Linked DNA regions of Homo sapiens: region 2 is linked to region 1. The links are contacts of gene promoters, found by promoter capture Hi-C in human tissues and cell types (Jung and others, 2019). All regions are on one chromosome and are shown on one strand. Each heading gives the region's core, a stretch centred on a gene start or on the middle of the fragment in contact. The rest is flanking DNA. Distances are from core to core; before and after follow the strand shown. Region 1 holds the start of GALR3 (galanin receptor 3). Region 2 overlaps FAM227A (family with sequence similarity 227 member A).

The links. The method cuts DNA at HindIII sites, captures the fragments that hold promoters and counts their contacts. A contact is called where the count stands out against the background at its distance.
Region 2: a fragment that was not itself captured here is called in contact with the fragment with the promoter of GALR3 in region 1 in 1 of the 25 tissues and cell types used here (spleen).

Annotation. Positions count from the first base shown.
Region 1 is chr22:37,821,636-37,828,754 of GRCh38, forward strand. It overlaps GALR3 (galanin receptor 3), which reads left to right and starts at 1,747. Exons shown (of 2, transcript NM_003614.2): 1 at 1,747-2,130; 2 at 3,088-3,850. The coding sequence starts at 1,772. The coding sequence ends at 3,835. The HindIII fragment of the contact is 28,947 bases long and covers 1-7,119 here.
Region 2 is chr22:38,638,852-38,646,144 of GRCh38, forward strand. FAM227A (family with sequence similarity 227 member A) reads right to left here. Exons shown (of 17, transcript NM_001013647.2): 3 at 6,712-6,794; 4 at 804-873. Among named protein-coding and RNA genes, the nearest start is that of FAM227A, 14 kb to the right of the region's middle. The HindIII fragment of the contact is 6,838 bases long and covers 2,178-7,293 here.

The DNA.
Region 1 (7,119 bases), core at 497-2,996:
ACCTGTCTTGGCCTCCCAAAGTGCTGGGATTACAGGCATGAGCCACCGCGCCCAGCCTCTTCTTTTTTTTTTTTTTTTTTTTTTTGAGACAATGTCTCACTCCATCACCTGGGCTGGAGTGCAGTGGCGTCATCTCGGCTCATTGCAACCTCCACCTCCCAGGTTCAAGCGATTCTCCTGCCTCAGCCTCCAGAGTAGCTGGGATTACAGGCGCCCGCCACGACGCTCAGTTAATTTTTGTATTTTTAGTAGAGACAAGGTTTCGCCACATTGGCCAGGCTGGTCTCGAATTCCTGGCCTCAAGTGATCTGCCTGCCTCAGCCTCCCAAAGTGCTGGGATTACAGACGTGAGCCACCATGCCCGGCCTAGGAACCTTTTCTAAACATGGATTGGAGCAAGAAGGTGCAGGGATAGGGGATGGAGTCACATCAGGCTGGGCCACAGGAGGTGGGAGTGCCAGAGACTGGCTGGGCCCTGGGCACAGAGGGGTTAACTACAAAGCAAATCACAGAGAGCGAGATCAATGGGTTACTGGCTGCAGAGAGAGGAAAAGGCAGCAGCAACGCAGAGAGGCAGAGAAGAGCCAGGCAGAAGAGCCTGCCACCTGGGGGAAATCAGGGACTGAGGAGGAAGTGGCCAGTGGCTACTCCAGAGGGAGTGCCCAACTCCGGCTCAGCAGAGGGGGCAGAGGAGAGGAGGGGCCTTAAAGGCAAAGGGGGAGAAGTAGAAGGCAGACCAGTACCTGCAGGGAGGCACCAAGGGGCAGCCGCTGAATCAGGAGGCCCACCCAGCCCGGCCATTCCACCCAGGATCAAGCCCACTGCCCAAGGCGGAGGTGGGTGTTGCCCATCCTGGGCTTTGGGGACCTACTGCATGCTGGGTGCTGGGATGGGGGCAGACATTGCCTTTCTTCCCTACTCCCTGCCTGACCCCCCTTTCCCCTACTTTGTCCCACCACCCCAGTGGTCTCAAGCCTGCAAGGAGATCCACAGGCAGTAGGAGACATGGGCTGTAGAGTGGGATGGGGGTGAGCATGGGTGCGGTGTGCACACACACAAGTTGTCAGAGGCACCACCTGTTACAAGCTCTCAGATGAGCACTCTAGCTTAAGAGGCAGGATACCAGGGTGGCAACAGCCCCAGAGCTGCCATTTCGAGTGTGATATTATCCTCCCATGTCCCCTCTCTGGGCCTCAATTTCCCTATGTGCAGAGAGGAAGCAGTGACCTACACGGTCTTCCCAGTTTTGCCATTGTGATGATCTCACTATACTGGACCCTCCAATGACTCAGGGATGTTACCCGTGTTTTGCTAAGGCTACAGCTTGTAGCCAGAGAAAGCCCTAAACCCATGTCCCAGGGTCTCCCCTGAGCTTCAGATCCCCATTGAGAAGGAAAACATACCAGTTTCTGGGTTTGGCCCCTCCCCCCATCGCCATATCTTCATCCTACTTCGCTTGTGCCTTCCCCAGCCTCGTGGGTTGAAAGTGTCCCTCAAATACCTAGGTAGTCCTCCAGGCAGGACTCCAGGGGTGTTCCTTAGGAAACTGAGGAACTCTCACCCCTTGAACACCACGAGCTTGCTCACACAGTGACACTCAGCGATGACTTTGGCTCTGCTCTCCCCTCCTCCATCTCCCACGAGCTTCCAGCCCAGAACACCTGGCCAGACCCAGGTCGGGGGAGTTAGATCCCGGGGTCAAGCAACCAGAACTGGGGGCTCTTGCCTGAGGATTCCAGCTTCTCTTCCCAGGTGCCCGTCTGATGGGGAGATGGCTGATGCCCAGAACATTTCACTGGACAGCCCAGGGAGTGTGGGGGCCGTGGCAGTGCCTGTGGTCTTTGCCCTAATCTTCCTGCTGGGCACAGTGGGCAATGGGCTGGTGCTGGCAGTGCTCCTGCAGCCTGGCCCGAGTGCCTGGCAGGAGCCTGGCAGCACCACGGACCTGTTCATCCTCAACCTGGCGGTGGCTGACCTCTGCTTCATCCTGTGCTGCGTGCCCTTCCAGGCCACCATCTACACGCTGGATGCCTGGCTCTTTGGGGCCCTCGTCTGCAAGGCCGTGCACCTGCTCATCTACCTCACCATGTACGCCAGCAGCTTTACGCTGGCTGCTGTCTCCGTGGACAGGTGCGCTGTGCCTGGGGCCTGGCTGGGCAGGGCTGTGGGGGCGGGGGTTGGGGGAGGAGTCCTGAACAGATCCTCACTGGCCTTAGGAAGGAGAGAGTGGGGGACCAGAAAGGGAGGTGGGTGGGAGGAAACAAAAGCTCCCTGACCCCTCGCAAGCAGCCTCTGGGCACCTGCAGGGCGTGCTTGAGGGGACTGTCCTGCCCTTCCCCTCCTCCACTGTGAACTTCCAGAGGACGCCTCTGAGTCTCAAGTGGCAGCACAGGGTCTGGCACATAGTAAGTGCTCTGTAAGCGCGAAATGAATCGCAAAAGAAGCTCACGAATGCGTTCATCAGTTTTTTTGTTTTGTTTTGTTTTGTTGTTTTTTTTTTTTGGATCTTGGCTCACTGCAACCTCTGCCTCCTGGGTTCCAGCGATTCTCCTGCCACAGCCTCCTGAGTAGCTGGGATTACAGGCCACCACACCTGGCTAATTTTTTGTATTTTTAGTAGAAACGGGGTTTTGCCATGTTGGACAGGCTGGTCTCGAACCCCTGACCTCAAGTGATCCGCCCGCCTCGGCCTCCCAAGTGCTGGGATTACAGGCGTGAGCCACCGCGCCCAGCCCAGCTATTTTCTAACTGCCCACACCTGGCCAAGCTGTGCACACATCTGCTTCCACAGCTTGAAACTTGGGGTCAAATCCAGGCTCACTCCAGCTGATGACCCTGGGCAAGTCACTTCTCTCTGGACCTCATCTGACGCATCCATAAAATAATCCTAGAAATAACAAGTCACCGGGATCGGGCCCTTGCTAGGTGCAAGGGCCTAAGCACCTTGCGCGTTCACACCCTTAATCCCCGCCACGTCCCCCACGGTTCACAGGAGGCGCACTGGGCCGCAGGGCCCGGGCGCGGGACGTGGCGCGGGCCCCTGCGGGAGGGCACCTGCCCGCCCCGCTGACCAGGCGCCCTCCGCAGGTACCTGGCCGTGCGGCACCCGCTGCGCTCGCGCGCCCTGCGCACGCCGCGTAACGCCCGCGCCGCAGTGGGGCTGGTGTGGCTGCTGGCGGCGCTCTTCTCGGCGCCCTACCTCAGCTACTACGGCACCGTGCGCTACGGCGCGCTGGAGCTCTGCGTGCCCGCCTGGGAGGACGCGCGCCGCCGCGCCCTGGACGTGGCCACCTTCGCTGCCGGCTACCTGCTGCCCGTGGCTGTGGTGAGCCTGGCCTACGGGCGCACGCTGCGCTTCCTGTGGGCCGCCGTGGGTCCCGCGGGCGCGGCGGCGGCCGAGGCGCGGCGGAGGGCGACGGGCCGCGCGGGGCGCGCCATGCTGGCGGTGGCCGCGCTCTACGCGCTCTGCTGGGGTCCGCACCACGCGCTCATCCTGTGCTTCTGGTACGGCCGCTTCGCCTTCAGCCCGGCCACCTACGCCTGCCGCCTGGCCTCACACTGCCTGGCCTACGCCAACTCCTGCCTCAACCCGCTCGTCTACGCGCTCGCCTCGCGCCACTTCCGCGCGCGCTTCCGCCGCCTGTGGCCGTGCGGCCGCCGACGCCGCCACCGTGCCCGCCGCGCCTTGCGTCGCGTCCGCCCCGCGTCCTCGGGCCCACCCGGCTGCCCCGGAGACGCCCGGCCTAGCGGGAGGCTGCTGGCTGGTGGCGGCCAGGGCCCGGAGCCCAGGGAGGGACCCGTCCACGGCGGAGAGGCTGCCCGAGGACCGGAATAAACCCTGCCGCCTGGACTCCGCCTGTGTCCGTCTGTCTCACTCCCGTTCTCCGAAGGCGGGACGCCACCGGGCCAGGGATGGGGCAATGCCACGAGCTCTCTGAGGGGCGTTGAGTGGAGCGACTTGTCCCCGCTCCACAGCGGAGCACCAGCCCAGTGGACACCCCTGGGTGTGAATATGAACAGCACAGCCCGCCCCCAGCAGGGCAGCCCCCAGAGCCTGCCCAGAGCCAGCCTGGCAGTCCCTCTGCCCATTCTTCCAACTGGGTGACACCTAGGCCCTGCTTCCTCCACCACCTCTTAACTATCTCCTTCTTGGTTCCAAGCTCAGTCCTAGGTAATTTAACATCAACAGCTAATAAATGGCTAATATTTAAGTGGGACCAGGCGCTTGGCTCATGCCTGTAATCTCAGCGTTTTGGGAGGTCGAGGCGGGAGGATCGCTTGAGGCAGCAGTTCAAGGCTGCAGTGAGCCATGATCACGCTACTGCATTCCAGCCTAGACAGCAAAGCAAGACCTTGTCTCTAAAAACATTTATTAAGCAGGTACCATATGCCTCATGCTACATTCTTTGTCAAAACAGCTTTGCAAATAGATATGATTAACCTTTCCTTTTTTTTTTTTTTTTTTTTTGTCTTTTAGAGACAGAGTTTTGTCTCCCAGGTTGGACTACAGTGGCGCCATCTCGGCTCACTGCAACCTCCGTCCCCCGGGTTCAAGCAATTCTCCTGCCTCAGCCTCCAGAGTAGCTGGGATTACAGGCGCCCACCACCACATCCGACTAATTTTTTTTTTTAATAGAGATGGGGTTTCACCATTTTGGACAGGCTGGTCTTGAACTCCTGACCGCAGATGATCCGTCCGCCTCGGCCTCCCAAAGTGCTGGGATAACAGGCGTGAACCACTGTGCCCGGCTGTTTAGCCCCATTTTACAGATGTAGAAATCAAGGATCATAGAGATTTAGTGATTTGCCACACCGCTGGTGTTTGGCAGAGGTTGGATACAAACCCATGGCTGTGTAACTTTTTCTTTTTTTTTCTATTATTATTATTATTATTATTTTTGAGAGAGAGAGAGAGATTGTTATCCAGGCTGCAGTGCAGTGGCACAATCTTGGCTCAAGACAACCTCCGCCTCCCAGGTTCAAGCGATTCTCCTGCCTCAGCCTCCCGACTAGCTGCAACTATAGGCGTATGCCACCACACCCGGCTAATTTTTGTATTTTTTTATTATTTTTATTTTTTGGTAGAGATGGGGTTTCACCGTGTTGGCCAGGCTGGTCTTGAACTCCTGACCTCAAGCGATCCGCCGGCATTGGCCTCCCAAAGTGCTGGGATTACAGGCGTGAGCCACCGCGCCCGGCCCAGAGGTAACATTTGACATGTATTTTCTTGGACAAAGGTGGGGAGGGGCATGCCAGGTAGAGCAACAGCCTGTGCAAGGCAGGGGACGTGCAGGGCAGTAAGTGGCTCCTGCAGCTGAGGCAGGGAGAGATTGGGGCAGGGGAGGCCTGGAGGGCAGGAGCTTCATCCTTCAGGCAGATGGTGATGCCACTGAAGGTTTTCAGGAGAGGAGGGGGCCTATCAGATGTGCAGTTCAGAAAGCTCCCAGGGCTGCTGTGTACAAGCTGGAATGGAGGCCTAGACTTGGCAGAGGACTCCGATCAGGTGGGTTCTCCTGGGCCCTTCTTGGAAGTGAGGAGACTGGTAAAGAGTCTGCTCCGTGAGCTCTGTTGAGGAAAGCCAACGAGGCCTGGCCTAGGACTGGGAAGATATTTTTGCCGTGGACTTGGCAGGAAGATGGATGGCCTGCTGCCAGGCTTGGGCTTGGTTCCCGAGGCTCCGAGGTTTGCTTCAGGGGGCTAATGAAACACTTGGAAGAGCAGATGGTCGTAATAATAATAACTCAGGAGAGAATTGTGTGTCCAGTAGAGCCCAAGGCAGGCAAGAGGGTCGGAGCGGAGGCTGAATTGAGTCCTGGCCACTGCTCCCCAGGGCCTGAGAGAACCCTCCTGATCTGAGCCCTCTGTCAAGTGTAGGGCTGAGCCTGGGGCAGCCCTGGGGACCTGGAAAGGCACTTTTCTTAGTTGGAAGGAGGTTTGGATTCTACAACCTTCTTACCTTCCTGTTTGTGCAAACCTCTTAAGAAGAGGCCTGGCCGGATCACGAGGTCAGGAGATCGAGACCATCCTGGCTAACACAGTGAAACACCATATCTACTAAAAATACAAAAAATTAGCTGGGCGTGGTGGCAGGTGCCTGTAGTCCCAGCTACTCGGGAGGCTGAGACAGGAAAATGGCGTGAACCCGGGAGACAGAGCTTCCAGTGAGCCGAGATCACGCCACTGCACTCCAGCCTGGGGGACAGAGCGAGACTCCGTCTCAAAAAAAAAAAAAAATTACTCTTTAGGGGGCCTGGCGCAGTAGCTCACGCCTGTAATCCTAGCACTTTGGGAGGCTGAGACGGGTGGATACTAGGTCAGGAGTTCAAGACCAGCTTGGCCAAGATGCTGAAACCCCATCTCTACTAAAAATACAAAAAAAAAATTGGTCGGCCTTGGTGGTACACACCTGTAATCCCAGCTACTCGGGAGGCTGAGGCAGGAGAATCGCTTGAACCCAGGCAGCAGAGGTTGCAGTGAGCCAAGATCGCGCCACTGCACTCCAGCCTGGGTGACAGAGCAAGACTCTGTCTCAAAAAAGAAAAAAAAGATTTACTCTTTAGGGAGCTCTTTCTGGCTGCCCAGGCAGGCTTTCATAGGGAGGAAGTACAGAGTGTGCTGACTGGAGCAGAGAGGTCAGTCAGGAGGCTCGTGTGAGAATCCAGAGAGAAAGACATAGAGGTATTGGAAGTGGTGGGGAGACATGGACAGATGGGTCAGCCACTTAGGAGGTACAATTGCTAGGACTTGGTGACTGTTGGAGGGTAAGGAGGAGAGACGTGTCCCAGATGACACCCCAGACTTCTGGCTTGGGCTATTTGGGGGTGGCAGTGGGGATAACTGAGGGGGACAGTTTTGGTGGTCATGGTGGGGGTGCCCGCAGAATAGCGGTGTACTCTGAGTACGTGCCACGTTTCACAACCACTGTTTGCAGGTGGGCAAGGGCAGGGAGCTTGTCCTTTCATTCCCTGCTGTCCTCCCACCTAGAACACTGCCTAGCACATAGCAAGCACTAAGTCAATAAGTCAATATTTATTTTTATTTTTATTTTTATTTTTTGAGATGGAGTCTCACTCTTTTGCCCGGGCTGGGGTGAAGTGGCTGAATCTTGGCTCACTGCAA
Region 2 (7,293 bases), core at 4,347-6,846, 820 kb after region 1:
AGTAACCACAGGGTCTGTCCACAGCTGTGCGGTGCTTACAACTGTGCTTTTTCATTCCACTTGAGCTGCCAGAGGACACTCCTACTACTAGTCTCATAGGTCCCAACTGTGTTGCCGACTTATCTGATTAGACCACTTGATCCAGAGAAGCAGCAAGGAGGAGCAGACAGACTGTGACTTTAGGTAAGTTACTCCCCTCCCTCCAAGGCTGTTTCCTCATCTATAAAATATATTAAATGGTACCTACTTCCCAGGTGTTATAAAAATTTAACAAGGGGCCGGGCACAGTGGCTCACACCTGTAATCCCAGCACTTTGGGAGGCTGAGGCAGGCGGATCACTTGAGGCCAGGAGTTCAAGAACAGCCTGGCCAACATGGTAAAACCCCATCTCTACTAAAATACAAAAATTAGCCAGGCACGGTGGCGAGCCCCTGTAATCCCAGCTACTCAGGAGGCTGAGGCAGGAGAATTGCTTGAACCCGGGAGGCGGAGGTTGCAGTGAGCAGAGATTACGCCACTGCACTCCAGCCTGGGAGACAGAGCGAGACTCCGTCTCGAAAAAAAAAAAAAAAAACCAAGGGAATGTGGATAAAAGCACCTGGTGCCACATGTAGGTGGTCTCTAAATGGTACTGCCCCTCCCTCCTTCCTTGCCCAATGTCAAGAAGTCAGATTTAAGGCTCCTTCAGAAGAAGACAGAAACATCCTCATCTGAAACTTGGGATTCCTACTCAGTTGCATTTTAGATACTAAAAAAACAAACCCCATGAAAAGAGCATCAAGGCTGAGGGAAAGGTTTTTGCCTTTGTCTTCTGGACTGCTGCGAGTTTTCTCTCTTAAAGCCTTCTTCTCCAACTCAAATCTCTCAATTGCCTTCAAAAACCAAGAAAAAGGGGGGCATTAGGGATTAATGCAAATCCTGGAGAAGGGTGGGGTTAGGGTCTAGGCGTTTCCTCTTGTTGGTGCACAAAAGACCTGGAGCAAAGTTTGTGGACAGTGCCTTGTCTTTCCAGGTGGTAGGTCCTGGTGGCCTCAGTGTCACTGACATCATCCCCCAGAGTGTCCCCACTGTCTCACACTGCCCCTTCTTCTAGGAGTATGTGATTTAGAGCAGGAATTAGAAATTAAACAAGCTATTGTTTAATCTCTTTGTAAAAGGGGGATAATAATATCTATCTTCCAGGGTTCTTTTTTTTTTTTGAGACGGAGTCTCGCTCTGTTGCCCAGGCTGGAATGCAGTGGTGCAATCTCGGCTCACTGCAAGCTCCGCCTCCTGGGTTCACCCCATTCTCCTGCCTCAGCCTCCCGAGTAGCTGGGACTACAGGCGCCTGCCACCACGCCCGGCTAATTTTTTGTATTTTTAGTAGAGATGGGGTTTCACCGTGTTAGCCAGGATGGTCTTGATCTCCTGACCTCCTCATCTGCCCACCTCGGCCTCCCAAAGTGCTGGGATTACAGGTGTGAGCCACCACGTCCAGCCTCTTCTAGGGTTCTTATAAGGGTCAAAAATAAAGTGTTTAATGTATTTTAAAACACTGGCAAAGAGGCTACCAGATAGGAGCTGTTCAATAAGGGGTCTCTATTATCTACCCTTGACCTCTCAAGAGAGACTTCTCTTGATCTCTGACTCTTCCCCACCCCCATCCTCCTACGCCCCTGAAAAGGAAGACAGAAAAATGAATGCTAGTGACCCAAGTTGCATTGATTGTCAACCAAGAGTCCAGCAATGAGCTTGGATAACAAAGTTAACAAACAAGTATGAGTCTGTGTTTTTGCCCTCAAGGGACTTACACTCTATTTGGAGAGCCAAATCAGCACTCGTGGAACAATTAAATGCTAAACTGCTGTGATTACGAATCAAAGTGAGGTCAACGTGGGCCAGAGCAGTCACAGAGGACTGTCCAGAAGAGGTGGACATGAGTGTTGGTGGCATCAGGCTCCTGAGCTTGATAAACTGGGAAATACCTCTCCAGGCCTCCCCCATCTTTCCCTTGCATCAGCACTCCCTGGTCTGCATGAGTGAAAGGTACTGGGCATGTGTGCAGGGGTGTGTGTATGTGTGTGTGCCAGTGGTGGGGGGGCGGTCACAGGGGTTAGTCTATGTATTAACATTGTTGCTCCAATTAAGTAAGCTGAAATTTAAGGCATGAGGAATGAATTGGATGGGTATGAGTCACTGTAGCAATATAGCAATATCTCTGATCTTTACCAATGTCATTATAGCAGACACTGTATGGCCTGGAAGGATGGATAAGATTTGCACAGAAAGAGGGGAGAGAAAGGATAGTTGAATGCTGAAAGAAGAGCAAGTTTTGGGGGGAAAGATGGTAAGACCAGCACTGGGCTGAGTTTACCTTTGAGATGACTTCAGGGCCTACAAGCAGGGCTGTTCTCCAGGAAGGCAACTCCCAAACCGGACCAATGACCGGCATTTTGGGGAAGTATTCAAATACACAGATTCCCGGGCCTTTGCATTAGAGATGCTTATTTCCTGGGTCTGCATTGGGTCCTGAATTTTTTATGCATTTATAGTGGCTCCTGAATAAAAAATTAGCCGGGCGTGGTGGCACGTGCCTATAATCCCACTACTTGGGAGGCTGAGGCAGGAGAATTGCTTGAACTTGGGAGGCGGAGGTTGCAGTGAGCTGAGATCGCACCATTGCACTCCAGCCTGGGCGACAAGAGTGAAACTCCATCTCAAAAAAAAAAAAAAAAACAAAACAAAGAGAGAAAAACCTGCAGGCGAACTTGCCTGCAGCTCACAGGATCTCTCAAAGAGTACATCTTCATCATTGTAATCCTCTGCCTCATAGCCACCATCGAGAAGCAGGTCTTTAGTAGCGACTTGTTGGTTGACATTTCTTTGCTGCTCTCATTTTCAAATCTCTCTATCTCCATATCTTAGAGCTCTTTAGATTTATGCCTCAGATTTCTTAAGTGCAGTTAAAAATAAGAAACAAATACACGACATTGCCAAAACCCAAAATAGCCAAAAAGACACTTACAGATGATTCACGCCTGTGTTCTTCCATCTTGTGGGAGCCTGCTACACAACAGCTACTTGCTTAACATTTAGCACTCCTGCCTCCCGAAAAGGTGTGTGTGTGTGTGTGTGTGTGTGTGCGCACGTGTGTGTGCGCGTGTGTTTGAGAATTATTGAAGGGTTTGTATTTTTTCCCAATAAAAATGTACCAAAATTAACCTTCAGACTTCTCATTTCAGGTCCACATGTAAGGATCTCATAAGTCACCATTCTGTCCCAATAATAAGTAAAGCTGAATAAACTGAAAAATCAACAACTCTTCTTAGATCATTCAGAGAAGTGAGGTCACAGGGCAAACTACTGCCTGAAAACTGAACAGACAGGTAGGTAGATACAGAGAATGCCAACTGGCAGGAGAATAAACCCATGGGCAGAAACCTCCATGGGAACCAGTAGCAAAGCCAAAACTGTCATAAATGAATTCTGGAGGCTCAGTGTAGACACCCTGAGAGGTAAAAACTCCAGCCATCACAAAAATGAACTCAAAATGAATCAAAATCAAATGTAAACATAAAACTATAAAACCCCTAGAAGACAAGAGGAGAACACCTAGGTGACCTTGGGTTTGGCCATGACTTTTTAGATATGACACAGAAGGTACAATCCATGAAGGAAATGATAAGTTAGATTTCGTTAAAATTAAAAATTTCTGCTCTGTGAAAAGACACTGTCAAGAGAATGAAGTGACAAGTCACATATTAGGAGAAAATATTTGCAAGAAAATCCAACAAAAGGCTGTTACCCAAAATATTCAAAGAGGCCGGGCGTGGTGGCTCACGCCTGTAATCCCAGCACTTTGGGAGGCCAAGGTGAGCGGATCACTTGAGGTCGGGAGTTTGAGACCAGCCTGGCCAACATGGTGAAACCCTGTCTCTACTAAAAATACAAAAATTAATTGGGCGTGGTGCCACATGTCTGTAATCCCAGCTATTAGGGAGGCTGAGGCAGGAGAATCGTTTGAACCCAGGAGGTGGAGGTTGCAGTGAGTCCAGATTGCACCACTGCACTCTAGCCTGGGTGACAGAGTGAGACTCCGTCTCAAAAAAACAAAAACAAAAAAACAACCCAAAACAAAATATTAAACGAAATCTTAAAACTCAACAATAAGAAAATAACCTGATTTAAAAATGGGCTAAAGGTTGGGCATGGTGGCTCACGCCTGTAATCTCAGCACTTTGGGAGGCCGAGGCGGGTGGAACACCTGAGGTCAGGAGGTCGAGACCAGCCTAGCCAACATGGTGAAACCCAGTCTCTACTAAAAATACAAAAAATGAGACGGGAGTGGTGGTGGGTGCCTGTAATCCCAGCTACTCAGGAGGCCGAGGCAGGAGAATCACTTGAACCTGGGAGGTAGAGGTTGCAGTGAGCCAAGATCACGCCACTGCACTCCTGCCCGGGTGACAGAGCAAGATTCTGTCTCAAAAAAAAAAAAATAGTGGGTGGGGGTTGGCGCTAAAGGTTGAACAGACACCTCAACAAGGAAGATCTGCAGACTATAAATAAGCACATAAAAAGACGGATGTCCCTGGGGAAATGAAAACTAAAACAGCAATGGGATACCACTACGCAGCAATCAGAATGACCAAAATCTAGAACACTGACAACACCAAATACTGGTGAGAACGTGGAGCCGCAAGAACCCTCATCCACTGCGGGTGGGAAGGAAAAATGTTAACACCACTTTGGAAGAGCGTTTGCCGGTTTCTTACAAAACTAAACTCTCACCATAGGATCTAGCAATTGTGCTCCCTGGTATTTACTTACATGAAGTGAAAACTTATGCCCACACAAAGACCTGGACATGGATGCTTACAGCAGTTTTATCTGTAATTGCCAAAACTTGGAGGCAACCAAGATGTCCCTGAGTAGTGGACAAATAAACCATGGTACGTTCAGACAATGGAATATTTGGCACTAAAAAGAAATGAACTATCAAGCCATGAAAAGATGGGTTGTTCCCAGAGGGAACTGGCCAGGCGCAGTGGCTCACGCCTGTAATCCCAGCACTTTCGGAGGCTGAGGCGGGCGGATCACGAGGTCAGGAGATCGAGACCACCCTGGCTAACATGGTGAAACCCCGTCTCTACTAAAAATACAAAAAATTAGCCTGGCGTGGTGGCGGGCGCCTGTAGTTCCAGCTATCGGGAGGCTGAGGCAGGAGAATGGTGTGAACCCGGGAGGCAGAGCTTGCAGTGAGCCGAGATCACGCCACTGCACTCCAGCCTGGACGAGAGTGTGAGACTCCATCTCAAAAAAAAAAAAAAAAAAAAAAAGATGTGGAGGAAACTAAAAAGCATACTAAGTGAAAGAAGCCAACGTAAAAAGGCTACGTACTATATGATTCCAACTATATGGCATTATGGGAAAGGTAAAACTGGGGAGAGTAAAAACAACAGTGGTTCCCAGGGGTTAGGGAGTAAAAAGAGGTGAACAGGTGGAGCACAGAGGACTGTTGGGACAGCGAAACTATGCTGTGTGACACTACAATGGTAGATACATGTCATTAAAGAGGTGAACAGGTGGAGCACAGAGGACTGTTGGGACAGCGAAACTATGCTGTGTGACACTACAATGGTAGATACATGTCATTAAAGAGGTGAACAGGTGGAGCACAGAGGACTGTTGGGACAGCGAAACTATGCTGTGTGACACTACAATGGTAGATACATGTCATCATTTGTCCAAATTCGTAGAATGTACAACACCAAGAATCCTATTGTAAACTCTGAATGTCGAGTGATGATGATGTAACAATGTAGGTCCGTTAATTCTAACTAATGTGCCACTATCTTATGGAATGTCAACAGTGGGGGAGATTGTGCATGCGCAGGAGCAGAGGGTGTATGAAAAAAGTGTACTCTCTGCTCGATTTCGCTGTGAACTTATAATTGCTCTAAAAAATAAAGTTTAGGCCGGGCGTGGTGGCTCACGCCTGTAATCCCAGCACTTTGAGAGACTGAGGTGGGTGGATCACTTGAGGTGGGGAGTTTGAGACCAGCCTGACCAACATGGTGGAACCCTTTCTCTACCAAAAATACAAAAAATTAGCCGGGTATGGTGGCACACGGCTGTAGTCCCAGCTACTCGGGAGGCTGAGGCAGGAAAATCACTTGAAAGGGAGGCGGAGGTTGCAGTGAGCCAACATCGCACCACTGCACTCCAGTCTGGCGACAGAGCAAGTCTCTGTCTCAAAAATAAATAAATAAAGTTTATTGGCCGGGCGCGGTGGCTCACGCCTGTAATCCTAGCACTTTGGGAGGCCAAGGCGGGCAGATCACGAAGTCAAGAGAGCGAGCCCATCCTGGCCAACATGGTGAAACCCCGTCTCTACTAAAAAATACAAAAATTAGCTGGGCATGGTGGCACGCACCTGTAGTCCCAGCTGCTCGGGAGGCTGAGGCAGGAGAATCGCTTGAACCCAAGAGACAGAGGTTGCAGTGAACCGAGATTGTGCCACTGCACTCTAGCCTAGCAACAAAGCGAGACTCCATCTCAAAAAAAAATAAAAAATGTTTATTAATTTTTAAAAAAATTAACTTTGAATACTCAATTGTGTAAACATGTTTTCAAATAAATGGAGAGGCCCCAGGGCACTGCAACACCTTGATGATCCCCGGGGCCCTTCCCTGTCAGAAGCTTTGTCTCAGCTCCAGCATAGGTAACTCACCAGGCTGTTGGCCGACGGCTCGGTACGCAGATTTATGTCAGCAATCTTTTGGTTCACCTGGTGCATGGAGCCAATAAGGCATGCTGGGAGGTTAGTCTGCTAAGGAAACTCAGGGTGATGATTACACACACAACAGGATGGGGCTTGTCTGGTGAGAAGGGCAGCCCCTGTCTGCACAGCCTCTCTCCTTAATTATTTTCTTTGCATTCAGAGTTTTCACATTTCTTTCTTCCTTTTTTCTGAGACAGGGCCACGCTTTGTTGCCCATGCTGGAGTGCAGTGATGCAATCATGGGTCACTGCAGCAGACCTCCCGGGCTCAATCGATCCTCCCACCTCAGCCTCCCAAGTAGCTGGGACTACTGGCGCACACCACCACCCCTGGCCTATTTTTAAAATTTCTTGTAGAGATGCAGTTTCGCCATGTTTCCCAGGCTGATCTCAAACTCCTGGGCTCAAGTGATCCACTCACCTCAGCCTCCCAAAGTGCTCAGATCACAGGCATGAGCCACCGCACCTAGCCCATATTTCTTTATCTTGTTTTAAATGAGATACTTTGCAAATTATAAATGAGAGTTGACCA